Linked DNA regions of Homo sapiens: regions 1, 3 and 4 are each linked to region 2. The links are contacts of gene promoters, found by promoter capture Hi-C in blood cells and fetal thymus (Javierre and others, 2016). All regions are on one chromosome and are shown on one strand. Each heading gives the region's core, a stretch centred on a gene start or on the middle of the fragment in contact. The rest is flanking DNA. Distances are from core to core; before and after follow the strand shown. Region 1 overlaps NT5C2 (5'-nucleotidase, cytosolic II). Region 2 holds the start of AS3MT (arsenite methyltransferase). Region 3 overlaps CNNM2 (cyclin and CBS domain divalent metal cation transport mediator 2). Region 4 overlaps NT5C2 (5'-nucleotidase, cytosolic II).

Region 1 (3,777 bases), core at 235-2,734, 250 kb after region 2:
AGTCTTTATAGTCTATTCATCATTTATTGCTTCATAGTTAAAACTATAAATAATGAACCTAACAGCTATGTAAATCTATTCACCATAGGCCTTGTCAAGTTCAGTTTAGTCTAATCAGAACATTGATACAATTCAATGAATCTAGCATGAAATTATCATATTTCTTTTCCTTTTTTTTTTTTTTTGGATAGGTCTCATTCTGTAGCCCAGGCTGAAGTGCAGTGGCACAATCTCAGCTCACTGCAACCTCCGCCTCCCAGGATCAAGCAATTCTCCCACCTCAGCCTCCAGAGTAGCTGGGATTACAGACGTGCACCACGCTCAACTAATTTTTGCATTTTTTGTAGAGATGCGGTTTTGTTATGTTGCTCAGGCTGGTCCTGGACTCCTAGGTGCAAGCAATCCATCTGCCTCGGCCTCCCAAAGTGCTGGCATTAATTACAGGAATAAGCCACCATGCCTGGACAAAATCATCACATTTCATCTTCACAAATCTCCTTTAGGGGTTGAGTCCTTATGATATATTCTGATTAGATTTTTACTTTGTTTAGTTTTATGAATGTTTTCTAATTTATTTTTATTAATTTTATTAACCACAATTATCTTTTTTGTTTGTTTGTTTTTTAAGGGATCATCTCTTTTTGGAGAGGGAATTTTTTTTTTCTTTTTATCTGTTACCCTAGTTTAAATACTCAGCTTATTCTCTTATTCTACCCTATTTGTGGGGGAGGGCAAGAGTCCAAAAACTCTTAAGAAAAAAGATCACTAAGGGAGATCATGAATGCATTTTTAAGATGTAGTAAGTCAAACTACATCTATTTTTCTGTTCTTTAATTTTCAGTTGTATGCTTTTGATCCATTCACAAACTGATAAATCTCTCAAGAATAAGTCAGAGGGCCGGGCACAGTGGCTCACACCTGTAATCCCAGTACTTTGGGAAGCCAAGATGGGTGGATCACCTGAGATGGGGAGTTCAAGACCAGCCTGACCAACATGGAGAAACCCCATCTCTACTAAAAATACAAAATTAGCCAGGCATGGTGGCACATGCCTGAAATCCCAGCTACTCAGGAGGCTGAGGCAGGAGAATCATTTGAATCCAGGAGGCAGAGGTTGCGGTGAGCTGAGATCGCGCCATTGTACTCCAGCCTGGGCAACAAGAGCAAAATTTTGTCTCCAAAAAAAAGTCAGAGGGTATATACAGGTTGGTAGCTTTCACTGACTTAGAAGTGCTCATTCCCTCACACAAATATCTCTTGCACATATAATCTGGAAGCCAGTGGGATGAGGTAATGCACAAGTTCTATATTTTCCAAGTTGTGAGGAGGATGCCCTGAGTATTATTTCATGACCTAGGACAATGAGAATTTCTTTGGTCTTTTTGATAAAGGTTACCTTTCTTGTTTTGTACCAAAGACTTTTCAACAAATACATTCCTTTCAGAGACCTCTCGTCACAGTAAGAACTCCAAATAGATGCAACCAGTTTACACGCTATCAATAGTAAGTTCAGCTCAGCTAATCTTCCATCTTAATTCATCAAAGAGTTTCATCGTTCTTTAAGAAGAAATGCTAAAGCACAGACTTTTACATTGTCATTGGTTTCATTAAACAAAAAAAAAGGCGTGGCCAGTTGCAGTCTCATGCCTGTAATCCCAGCACTCTGGAAGGCTGAGGCTGGTGGACTGCTTGAGTCCAGGAATTAGAGACCAGCCTGGGCAACATGGTGAAACCCCATTTCTACAAAAAATAAAAAAATTAGCCAGGCATGATGGCACGAGCCTATAGTCCCAGCTACTTGGGAGGCTGAAATGGGAGAATCACTTGAGCCTGGGAGGCAGAGGTTGCAGTGAGCTGAGATCACACCACTGCACTCCAGCCTGGATGACAGTGTGAGACCCTGTTTCAAAAAAAAAAAAGGAAGAAAAGAAAAGAAGTAAACTCAAAATGGATCAAAGACCTAAATGTAGGAGTTAAAACTATAAAACTCTTAGAAGAAAACATGGCAGAAAATCTTCCTTATATTGGATTTGGGAATGATTTCACAGCTATGACAGCAAAAAGCACTGGCAACAAAAGAAAAAAACAGATAAACTGGACTTCAAAATTAAAAACTTTTGTGCCTCAAAAGCCATGATCAAGAGAGGGAAAAGAAAACCCACAGAATGAGAGACAATATTTGCAAATTGTGTATCTGATGAGGGATTAATATCCAGAATATATAAAGATTAATATGCAGAATGTGTAACTCCACAGTTATTTTAAAAACCTAATTTTAAAAAACTGATATTTCTCCAAAGAAGTTATATAACTGACTAAATAAACACATGAAATGATGCTTAATATCACCAGCCATTAGAGAAACATGAAATCAAAACCATAAGATACCGTAACTTCACACCCAGTAGAATGAGTATTATCAAACAACAACAAAAAACCTGAAAATAAGTATTGCCAAGATGTGAAGAAACTGGAACTCTCATTCATGTATTGCTGGTGGGGATGTAAGATGTTACAGCCACTATAGAGAACAGTTTGGCAGTTCTTTAAAAAGCTAAACATAGATTTACGTTATGATCCAGCAATTCCATTCCTGGGTATATACCCAAAACAACTGAAAGCAGGAAGCAGGAACTCAAACAGATGCTTAAATACCAATGTTCACAGCAGCCTATTCATAATAGCCAAAAGGTGGAGACAATCCCCATGTCCATCAACAGATGAACAGATAAACAAATGTATATACCTACAGTAGAATATTATTCAGTCTCAAAAAGTAATATATGCTATAACATGGACAAATTTAAAAAATATGCTAAAAGAAATAAGCCAGACACAAAACAAGTATTGTATAATTTCACTTTTATGAAATACCTATAACAGACAAATTCATAGAGACAAAATAAATTAGAGGTTACTAGCAACTGAGGGGTGGAGGGAATGGGGAGTTATTGCTTAATGGGTATGGAGTTTCTGTTTGGGATGATGAAAAAGTTCTGGAAATGGATAGTGGTGAGCATTGTGCAACTTTGTGAATGTGCTTAATGCCATTGAATTGTATACTTGAAAATGGTTTAAAATGGTAATATTATATTCTATATATTTTACCATAAATTTTTTTAATGCTGGACTTGAGATGCCTGTAGTGACAATACACCAATACTGCATAATATTTCTTGCTTTAAATAGTTTTTCTCACTCATTTAAGCACCTCCAATGCCAGTAAGTTTGGTGAGGATATACAATTGCTGACAGAAACATGATGAGGGCCCTGGACTCTAGTCCAAGTAAACACACCATCCAAAAAATGTTCACTTAAATGTCAAGTGAGTTGAGTCCATTCCAATAACAATAAAACAAGATCAGAGTGCATCTACTATGTTCGAGAGGACAGGGATCAAAGGTCCTGAGATGCCTCTGCTAGTAGCAAGATAATGCTCTGATTTACTGACATCACAGGCTAGTTTCTCTTAATTTCTTCCCCGGTACTCTTAACAGCTTTATTCATCACCTCTCCCACACTTGAGGTTTGTTAATGCCAAGTGCTTAGGTTTGGGATAACTCCCCAGAGGCTAATGATATGGCCTAGAAAGGAGGGGAGGGCAGAAAAATTCAAAAGAGAGGGACCTAAAATGTATTTCCAATCCCCCTAAGATTTTTTAATTGAGAAAAAAATGCACTATTTAATTTTAGAATTCTCGGCCAGGCACGATGGCTCAAGCCTGTAATCCCAGCATTTTAGGAGGCTGAGGAGGGCAGATCACCTGAGGTCAGTAG
Region 2 (3,334 bases), core at 109-2,608:
ATCTCCCTGTTTCCTTACTGTCCTAATGAATAGAAATGATCGTTACAAGCTGGGCATGGTGGCTTGCACCTGTAGTCCCAGCTACTGGGGAGGCTGAGGAGGGAGGATGGCTTGAGGCCAGAGTTGAAGGATCCAGAGATGATTGCGCAGTGACGCTAAGCTTGGGCCACAGAGTTGAGACCCTGTCTCTAAAAATTTTTTTTTAATTTAAATTATAAAAAGAGAAATGCTTGTTACAACCACAAAGGGAAACAAGATATACACATATAATTGTGGAAGTAAAAATAAATAATTTAAAAATACTTTTGGGTGCTCGCTTCGGCAGCACATATAGTTGGAATGATAGAGAAGATTTGCATGGCCCCTGCGCAAGATGACATACAAATTCGTGAAGTGTTCCATATTTAAAAAAACAAAAAATACTTTTGGGCCTGGCACTGTGGCTCATGCCTGTAATCCAAACACTTTGGGAGGCTGAGGCGGGCGGATTGCTTGAACCCAGGAGTTGGAGACCAGCCTGGACAACATGGTGAAATCCCGTCTCTATAAAAAAATACAAAAATTAACCAGGTGTGGTGGTGCACGCCTGTAATCCAAGGTACTTGGGAGGCTGAGGCGGGAGGATCGCTTGAGCCAGGAGGTTGGGCCTGGGTAACAGAGACCGTCTCAAAAAAATTTAAAAATTAAAAAAAAAACTTTCTGCAAGATGAAGTGACAATACCTGGAAAATACATGTGACTTGACCAAAAATTACTATAGGTGAAAATAAATTTAGCAAAGTTGCTTTCCTAAATACAACCCAAAATAGACTGGGAACAGCTACATACTGTTAATGGTTCCCTCTATGTGACATTCTAGAAAAGGCAGAACTATAGGGAGGGAAAACATCTGTGGTTGCCCAGGAGCTAGGGGTGGGAAGAGGGAATTTACTACAAAGAGGCACGAAGAAACTTGTGGGCCAGAGCTATTTTGGTCTCCGTTTTGGTGATGTATATACGTTTGCCAGAGTTCACAGAACTGCACACTGAAGAAAGATGGATTTCACGGAATGTGAATTATATCTCAACAAACTTGACTTCAAAAAACAGATCGAGAAAAGATGATTCTATTCCCAAAAAGGGGGAGGGGGGAAGATCATTATATAGGTGAGTGTTCATTTAAATCAGAGTACGAGATTTATCCGTGAAAATCGCAGTGGAGCGAACAAGGGGGATGCTGATACCGACCTCCTGGTTGGAAAGCCTGTAGAGCAGCGCGGATGACAGTGGAACAGCGGGTCAGGCGGTGGGCGCCTGAGCGAGGGGCTAGAGCGGGATGGGCGGGCGGAGCAAGCCTGCCAGCCTGGGCGGGGCCTCGGCACAGGAGCTGGCTGCGGGAGCCCGCCGTCCTGAGTCGCAGGCCGAGGAGACAGTGAGTGCGCGCCCTGAGTCGCAGGCCGAGGAGACAGTGAGTGCGCGCCCTGAGTCGCAGGCCGAGGAGACAGTGAGTGCGCGCCCTGGGCGCCCCGCCCCAGCCCCCAGCCCCTTCCCTGGGCCCCCGCAAGGCGGGAACGCGAGCGCCTCCCCCGAGCTGTGTCTCGAGACCTTTGTCCTCCCCTCACCCCTCGGCCCGCTGCCTGCCCTTTACTGGCCCCCTCCCTCATGCCCGTCCCTCAGCACCCTCTCCTTTCAACTAACTTTCCCGCTCCCGACAGTGGCTGCACTTCGTGACGCTGAGATACAGAAGGACGTGCAGGTGAGAGCTGTAGGGCCTGGAATGGCCCAAGTGGAGCCTAGGCTAATGGAAGTCTGGCCTGGCCCGCACCCTGTCCCCCGGGACTCCTGGAGTCGGGGTAGGGCAGGGTCTAGGCTTCGACCTTTCCAGGGAACTGAGGTCGGCCAAGTGGAGGTGGAGGTGGTGACGGAGCCCTCGCGCTGCAGTCACAGCTCTTCTCCCTCTCTACCCCTCACTCCACTGTGGGACGCTGGGTCAGACCTACTACGGGCAGGTGCTGAAGAGATCGGCAGACCTCCAGACCAACGGCTGTGTCACCACAGCCAGGCCGGTCCCCAAGCACATCCGGGAAGCCTTGCAAAATGTACACGAAGAAGTAGCCCTAAGGTAGAGTGCCCTGTGCTGTCCCCAGGAAGACCCCAAACAGCAGTTTTCCCAAAAGATAATGATGCAGGTCACTAGGGAATTAACCCGTAGCCACCAACCCATCAGCTTGCCTTGTCTATTGTAAAAATCCTAAATCTCAGCACCCATCATCTTACTGCTCTAAGAACCTCCGATGAGTCTGGGCGCGCCAGTGAGCCTGTAGTCCCAAGTGCTTGGGAGGCTGAGGCAGAGGATCGCGTGAGCCCAGAAGTTACAGGCTGTAGTGTGCGATCCGGGATGTGAATAGCCACTGCACTCCAGCTTGGTCAACATAGCCAGATGCATCTCTAAAATAAATGCGTACTTTAAAAAAATTGCCTAAAAAAAAGAACCTCCAGCGTGAACACTCTGTAGTCCCTACCCATGCTCACAGAATACAGTCACACTCACTGGATCTGCCATTCAAGATATGCGCAGTTCAGCACCCACTAATCAACCTTGGCCCTTTTGACCCTTCCCTTCCTCACTCCATCAGCACTGCCTGCCCAGCCGGCAGTCACCAATTTGGAAGGTCTTCCCTTTTCTTTTTCCTTCCCAACCCTGCGCATCCAGCACCACGCTGCTGTCCCACCTACTGCATGGAGCCTTCTCTAATCCTTGAGCGGCCTCTTCCCCAAACTGCCACAGCACTCTGTCACTCGGTCTGTCCGTAAATCACGGGAAGTGTTTTCTGTGCACGATGTTTTATCTCGCCTCTCAAATACACCTACGCGGCGGGGAGCGGTGGCTCACGTCCGTCATCCCAGAACTTGGGAGGCCAAGGCAGGTAGATCACTTGAGGTCAGAAGTTCAAGACCGACCTGGTCAACATAGTGAAACCCTGTCTCTACTGAAAATACAAAAATTAGCTGGGTGTAGTGGGGCACGCCTGTAGTCCCAGCTACTTGGGAGGCTGAGGGAGGAGAATCACTTGAACGTGGAAGGCGGAGGTCGCAGTGAGCGGAGATTGTGCCACTGCACTCCAGCCTGGGCAACAGAGAAAAACTCAGTCAAAACAAAACAAAACAAAAAAAAGGCCGGGGGTGGTGGCTTATGTCTGTAATCCCAGCACTTTGGGAGGCCGAGGCGGGAGGATCACGAGGCCAGGAGATCGAGACCATCCTGGCTATCATGGTGAAACCCCGTCTCTACTAAAAATACAAAAATATTATCCGGGTGTGGCGGCACGCGCCTGTAGTTCCGGCTGCTGGGGAGG
Region 3 (3,686 bases), core at 1,076-3,575, 210 kb after region 2:
TTAGGACCCTTCAAACAACACTCATGTCTGAGCGGCCAGATTCCTCCTCCAGGCCCCATTTTCCCTCAGGAAACCAACCTCTCAGATGGTTGGAGGAGAAACACTGGGCTGTTGCTTCTTTGGGGCAGCAGGAGAATGACTTTGGCTTGGAAGGCCTCTGCCATTCATCTCTACAAAGCCAGTGGGGTCCGGCAGAGAAAGACCGTGGAATAGCTGCGGTCTCGATGTGGCTGCTCTTTGGCACCTCCGCTGGACTGCCCTCCCGCGGCGGTGACCTTTTCAAGTGTGGAAGGGAGTGGGTCGAGTGGACCAGATGCAGACCCCTGAGTTCTGGATACTGATGGGAGGCCTCACCCTCCTTTACGGGGCCTCTCTGGGTGGGACAGAGCCTCACCTGCTCCTGAGCAGCCACTGGTGCCCCACGGTTCCTCTGAAACTAAATCCCTAGCATCCAGATAGTCCTGGGACACTCTGCCTGCTCTGTAAATGAGGAGGGCTTTTCTCCTGCTGTTTGGAGGTTCCGTCCCTTCACTGCTTGTCCCATATGCGTCAGGCAAATTCAAAATCATACATTTAAACTCTTAGGAAAACAAAATCTTAAGACTTACACAGATATCGGGGTGCTAATCAACTGGCTTAAATCTTGATTCTTACATAATTTGAACTTGAAAGGTTACATTGAACTCTGTTCTTTCCTCCCTCCTCACCTCACTCCCTGCAGGGAGTTCAATGCCATGTTGAAGTGGTTGGCATCCCCAAGTGGGAGGGAGTGGGGCATCTTACCATCTTCTAATGTGACTTCAAGGAACAGTGCAAATGTTGAATGCAGAGCTTCACACTAATACGGAACAGTAACTGTGAGTATATTTACCTGTGCTGTCGTCAGCACTGTACACTAAAGGACCAGCTTTTCCAAGCCTAGGAAAATAATGGTAGATACAAATAGAAATACATTTTCCCTAGGAAATAGAGCAATAGGAATTTGAGCTAAGCAGGTACCATGAACTTCTGCCCTCAAATTCTCTCTTTGGGTTGAGGAGCAGACCTGTATAGGCCCTGGCTGATCAAGTCTGTGTCCTGCCTAGTAAAAACACACAACCACCTCTGTCATCTGAAGGCCAGCCGGGGATCTGTAGCCATCCTCGCCTTGCCTAGGCCCAGGAAGGTGAGGTCTCCTGGGCAACCAGAGTTGCCCCTGTGGTTCCCCAGGGGTGATCCTAGGCAGATGACTCACCCGGGCTGGCACAGGAAGGTGCTCACCTTGTTCTCTGGGGCTCCAAGCAAGAGCAGGCCAGGGAGGGCTGGCTTTGCACGCTATGTAGCATGACCCAAGCTCCCTGGTGGCATGGGAAAAACTCCCCTCTGCTTTTGAGCCCAGATATGGGCTTTTCTTTGCAAAGGGTTGAGGAGAAATACAAGACTGAGCTGGTAGGTTAGGGTCCAGAAGGCCTCTGAGGTGCCATTGCTTACTTCCTTACTGAGGAAACTGGCTCTTGTCCTGGGCCATGTAGTTCCATTCTGGGCTCTAGGCTAGTGGTGCTTCTGTCCATCAAGGGTATCTGGGTGAGTTGTAGGTTAACCCAGAATTTAGTAGGGATATAGGGGTTTGAATAGGAAAGTGATCTGGGGATTCAGAAATTTTTCTGATGTATCAATGAGCAACTTCTCAGTGGATTTTTATACCTCAGGGTCATTTGCAAATCTTTATCTTTTCCTATTTCTTAGGTGTTCAAGTTGGTTAATAGGAGAGAGACGTTCAGAGACTTCTAAGTTGAGGTTCATTTGCCTCCGTTTGAGGGGTGAGTGGTGCACCAATAGCTTGCTGCTGTTACTTAGCAAGGCTGTGACAAGTAGGCCTTCCTCCTCTAGCACTTGCAAGCTTTCTGTCTGCGATCACGGTTTACTTGCCCATTTCCCTTTTGCTACCTTCTTTCCTATCTGGAGATTCATATTCTAGAGTCCCTGGTCAACCCTACGGATGCGAAGAAGAGATGGCAGTTCACAGCAACTGCATAGAGTAGGGAGCAGCTTTCCTCCCACCATCCTAGGCTGGGGACCTTCTTTGCTTCTCACACCACTGTGGTTGGCTCAGCTCAAGTAAGCACGTTCTCTCTGTATGCTAGAGCTACTGACATCATCTCTACTAGAATTGTTTTAAATATCTTTTGATGGGAAATACCAGGTTGAACTTCAAGCATCATGGAAACAAAGGTTCTAGCTGCAAGAGAGTAAAGTTCTAGGTGTTTGTATGCCAAGGTTTATATGTACACAGATCCAACACATACTGTAAGAAAGACTTGAGTACACAAGGTTTTCAGGTTTTAATGCCCATTGGGACCGTGAACAAATGAGAAGAATGGGAGCATTGTCTTGCCTCGCTTGGAAGGACGCCTTCCGGCATCTGATCCACATGGATTCACTTTTAGGATGCAGTTCTTTGGGGGCCAGATTTGGCTGCAGATTCACCCTGAAGAGAACTATCCAATGGGCCTGGTGGGGCTTGGGTGCCTGCCTTTTTTGTTGGAGGCTCAGACTTCTAGAGCAGAGCAAAGTTGGGAAGAATGAGGTCTTAGGATTCTCATTCCCCAGAGAGCCCCAGCCTCGCTTCTGATCATTACTCCCCAAGTCTGAATCTACTGTGAAGGTGAAGTTATCAATTTTTTCTTGTTTGAGTCCTTTAAACCCACAAATGTATATGCTTTATTTTATATTATTTATTATGTACATATGCCTGTTAGTACTTCGTCTGTGACTAGGACAAGGTCTGTCTTGAAGCTTCCTCATCCATGGATCCTAGGGTTCTGCTGTCCTTTAAGGCGGGTGAGAGGGTAGTGTTGTTTTTTATAAACAGGTTGCTGCTTTTATGTTGGCCCTAGCATCCCCAGCCCCTTTAGTTGGGCCCACCTGTATTCCTTATGACCAGTGTTTTGGATGAGGATGGAGGCAGGTCTCCTACCTTGTGGGCAGGGCCTCTCAAGTACCTCCATGAAATATTTCCAAGGTGGTTTCTTGGTGACAGGCTCTCTTCCCCTATGTAGGGTACAGTACAGCTGTGAGTCCACGGCCTCCCTCCTCCCAAGGCAGGTCACTTGCCTGGCCCCACAGTGATAATGGTTTCTTCCACTTACCTTAGATTGCATAATCCATCTTTCTGGATAATGGAAGCTGCCTGCCTATCTGGGCTCTTAATATGCCTTTTCTTGGTTTTGAGGCCCAGTGCCAACATTGCCTTGGCCCTCAAGTAAGACCCTGCTTTGTGTCTGACTTTGATCCTCCTCAGCCTTTATTCACTGTATCATAGTGTACAGGTCATGCATTTGAGCAGTGAAGTTTTCTGAACACAGTATTCAGAGCTGTGTACATAAACCTAAATAAGCACAAATGACATGTATAGGATTGAGCTGATTGTCTTAATGAATGCATTTTATAATTCAAATGATGTAGATGTACAGTCTCTCCTATTTATTTTGTACCAATTTATTTGTAAATTTTGTGATTGTTTTACAAGGTTTTTGTTTATTTCTATTCTATTTAGATAAATGATGTTCTGTTCACCCTGCTAGCAGATGTGTGTTCCCTCTTCCCTTTCATCTGTGCAACACCAACCATGCCATTGTATTCAGCTTGGCTGAACCAACTGCCCTACCCACTTGCCTGGCTTTGCTGGTGGGAAAGCTGGGACTGGA
Region 4 (3,486 bases), core at 909-3,408, 230 kb after region 2:
GTGGGAGGTATCTGGACAAAAAAAATGGACCACTGTCATCCACAAAGGATATGTTAAGTATAATGTAATACACTAAAACCTCTTCTAAGTTTGAGAAATGCAAACTAAAATAAAATCCAGAAGCCAAACACCATCACTGAGGAAAGATCAACATTACCACCGAGACCAAAGACAAGAACAAATGTATTCTAGAGGGCTATCACTAGGCGGGGGCAAATCTGTTTTTTCTTTTTTTAAAAAAAGAAATATTCTGCTCCATTTGGAAAGTTAATGCCACGCCATAAAATACATGCCAGAAAGCAAGCAGGTGAAGAAACAGCTTCTAGGTACCTTGTAATGAACCCAGTCAACAGCATCTCTTACATCCTGGAACATACTCCGGTAGGACATGAAGAGGTCCCCATCTTTAAATCCTGTTTCACAACTACAGAAAGATAAAAATAACATGACAGGGGATCCAAAACAGGGTAAACAAAATATATATCAAAAATTTCCCAGGGGACCCAAAGGTTCCATATCACATGGGTAAAGGCTGTGGCTAATGAGGAAAATAATTACTCCCTAATGAAAGTCCACTTTGACCACCAGAAATGGCTATAGTGTTCAATGGAATACAGTAATTGTGAACAAATACAAAGTGATAGAAGAATATATTGAATGGAAGCTAAAAGGCCAAAGTTCCAAAAATGTCAGGTTTTTTTATTTATCACTTTTTAGAAACAGGTTGAAGAAACATTTAAAACTTAAAATTGGTCATTTAGGTTCTTTCCACCCTGACTTTCCTGACACTGTCCCTAAGTACAAAGGTACTGTCCATTTTTTTATTTAGTTCAGTGACTCAGCTTTCCACCAAATTTAGTGTCTTCAAGTGGATAAAGCCCAAAGAGGATAAGAAGTTAGCCAACTCTGGTATATAGATGGCTAAACTTTCAGTATTGGCTATATAATTCTCCCTAAAGGGAGAGGATAACTTGTTTAAGACTTACGCAAAATTTTACTTCTGATAAGATACACAGTATTTATTCCTTAATCAAATCTTGCCTGGCCTGGGAATGAAATTAAATTACCATCCCTGAATGGCTCCTGGGTAGCTGCTGTGAAATGAGTTGGGGGGTTTTAGTGTAATTCTGCTTGGACAGATAATCATCACACAAACCTCCCACTCAGTTGTCACAATTAGCACCTCTGCTGGCCGTCTTCATTCCCAGGAGAAGCCAATCAGAAGTGGTGGCTGCAGCACACTGGCAAGGAGAGGGGCCGTGTGGGAGGTGAGAGCCTGCATGGAGCTGCTGGTGCTGTCCCATCTCTCAGGTTGGCAATGTGGCATCTCTCACTAGCACTAAATTCACTTTAGAAAAGCAGAAAAGACCTACAATGGCCAGTTCTCTAAAACCCTGTGCATTAATTTTAAAAATCAATTGGAAAAAAATAATTATAGTATATACATACCTGGTATATCTGGGACAATTAGTAAAAAAATCTACTAGGCAGGCCAACAGGTAGGTCTCTGAAAAATGAAGAACAGATATTCATAAGCTATAATGAAATAATTCAAACTTATTTCATTACCTCCCTTGAATACAGACTAATGGTCACAGAAGGGAAAGCATCAGTATAAATAAGCATAGAATGAATCTACCTGGTAGGTTGAATAGTGTGTTCAGAATGTAAAATCTTTCAGTATCATCTCGCTGGATAAATTTATTTGGATACTGTTCTCTAGTTTCTGGTCTGAAAGAAAAATTTAAAAATTAACTGATTTTTAAAATAACATTATAATAATTGGGAAATAGCATTATTCAAAAATTAACTCAAATATTTTGATGGCTATGTGCAAGACAGAATTCCGAATATTACGCATGGATAGCTATGAAGATGAACGAGTTCAGGTTCCAGCTCTTTATTTTTTTTAATTTTAATTTTTTTTTTTTTTTAAGACAGTCTTGCTATTTTAAGTCCAGGCTGGACTCAAACTCCTGAAGATTGCTCAAGCAATCTTCCCACCTCAGCCTCCCAAGTAGCTGGGATTACAGGTGTGATGTCCAGCTTAGGTTCCAGCTCTTAAAAGAGTTGTCAGTGTGGTGGGCGAGGTGGGTCACATACACATATAATTATAAGGTAAAAAATCACAACTACTACAAGAAAGGTGCAAACATTTATGAGAAAACCAAAGAAGGGAACACCATTTCAACTTAAGAGGTAGAGAGAAGCAAATGTGAGGACTAAGGAGAGGAAAATCTAGGAAGGATTCATGCACGTGCTGGTATATGAGCTGGGCCTTAAAGGCTAGGTGGACCAGTTGTGAAACTAGTCCAACTTGGGTAGAGAAAGGGGAGCAGAGAAAAATTAAGCTAGAAAGATGGGTTGAGGCAGATTAAGCTACTGTTTCTACACCATTTAGGGGCAAGAGGGTACTACTGACAGTTTTAAAGCAGAGGATAATCCCATCGGGGCTGAGTTGTAAAACAAAATTAAATTAGTGGCTGTTTTAGGATAAACTGGGGAAAGACAATGTGATGCACTCCAACAATGGCCACAAATTCTTCCTGTCTCTTTGTGATGCAATTTTGTGGCTCCTCCCATTAGAACTCAGTCTATTTCTCTATCCTTGAATATAGGCTTGTATAGCAGCAAATGGGATCCAAGCAGAGACCTAGAAAAACATGTGTGTATTGAGGCTTAATCTCTCTTGCAGCACTTGGAACCATGGACTACTATGTGCATGACAGTGAGATAGTCTGCTGGAGGATAGAAGGCTACATGTAGAAATGAAGCACTCGGCCAACAGCCTGTGAATGCCAGACATGTGCATGAGGCCATTGTAGATCAGATGCCAGGTCACCCACCAGCTAACCACAGACATGTGAAAGAGCATAGAGAGATCAGCTGTGCAACCCAGAATCACCCAGTTGACTCTCAGAATTTTTTCTTTTTTCTTTTTTTTTTTTTGAGACAGAGTCTCACTCTGTCGGCCAGGCTGGAGTGCAGTGGCGTGATCTCAGCTCACTCATATATTCAAGAGAGATTACCAAGGTAAAATAAGACCCGGCAAACTGAGCAGATTTGGCTGGGGGAACATTAAAGAGTCAAAGATGATGATGTCCATGCTAAGGTGTCTCTGAGAGGTGGTTGGTACGATGAACAGAAATATGAAAACTAGATAAGAAGTGATGTGAGAGTAGTTCTATTTTAGTGATACTAAGTTTGAAGTAAACTGATTTTTATTAGGCAATTAGAAACAAAGGTCAAGAACTTAAAAGAGATTCAGCCTTGAGAGATAACTGAGATCATCTACGTACAGATACTAGATGGAATCATGAAAAGTATTAGAGGAGATGAAACCACTTAGTGTGCAGAGAAGGAAGAGAAGAGACAGAACAGAACCATGAAGAAAATTCAAGGTTTAAAAGAAAAAAGCCAGTGAAGCAGAATTTGTTAAAGATGCAAAAACACTTCTAGAAGAAAACATTTCAGAGAAACTCAAAG

Evidence for each region. Contacts are between HindIII fragments. The CHiCAGO score rates a contact against its expected background, and 5 or more counts as called.
Region 1: a contact is called between a fragment that was not itself captured here and the fragment with the promoter of AS3MT in region 2, in 1 of 17 cell types (erythroblasts). The highest score is 5.2, in erythroblasts.
Region 3: a fragment that was not itself captured here is called in contact with the fragment with the promoter of AS3MT in region 2 in 1 of 17 cell types (erythroblasts); the score reaches 8.2 in erythroblasts.
Region 4: a fragment that was not itself captured here is called in contact with the fragment with the promoter of AS3MT in region 2 in 1 of 17 cell types (erythroblasts); the score reaches 9.0 in erythroblasts.

What each region holds. Positions count from the first base shown.
Region 1 is chr10:103,118,192-103,121,968 of GRCh38, forward strand. The region is part of intron 4 of NT5C2 (5'-nucleotidase, cytosolic II); the gene reads right to left. Among named protein-coding and RNA genes, the nearest start is that of NT5C2, 73 kb to the right of the region's middle. The HindIII fragment of the contact is 5,128 bases long and covers 1-3,777 here.
Region 2 is chr10:102,868,112-102,871,445 of GRCh38, forward strand. AS3MT (arsenite methyltransferase) reads left to right here and starts at 1,359. Exons shown (of 11, transcript NM_020682.4): 1 at 1,359-1,482; 2 at 1,694-1,734; 3 at 1,973-2,100. The coding sequence starts at 1,482. BORCS7-ASMT (BORCS7-ASMT readthrough (NMD candidate)) reads left to right here. Exons shown (of 15, transcript NR_037644.1): 6 at 1,694-1,734; 7 at 1,973-2,100. It also overlaps the pseudogene LOC124902567. The HindIII fragment of the contact is 4,429 bases long and covers 159-3,334 here.
Region 3 is chr10:103,079,832-103,083,517 of GRCh38, forward strand. CNNM2 (cyclin and CBS domain divalent metal cation transport mediator 2) reads left to right here. Exons shown (of 8, transcript NM_017649.5): 8 at 1-3,686. Among named protein-coding and RNA genes, the nearest start is that of NT5C2, 110 kb to the right of the region's middle. The HindIII fragment of the contact is 896 bases long and covers 1,878-2,773 here.
Region 4 is chr10:103,099,596-103,103,081 of GRCh38, forward strand. NT5C2 (5'-nucleotidase, cytosolic II) reads right to left here. Exons shown (of 19, transcript NM_001351169.2): 7 at 1,640-1,731; 8 at 1,450-1,507; 9 at 331-424. Among named protein-coding and RNA genes, the nearest start is that of NT5C2, 92 kb to the right of the region's middle. The HindIII fragment of the contact is 6,803 bases long and covers 1-3,486 here.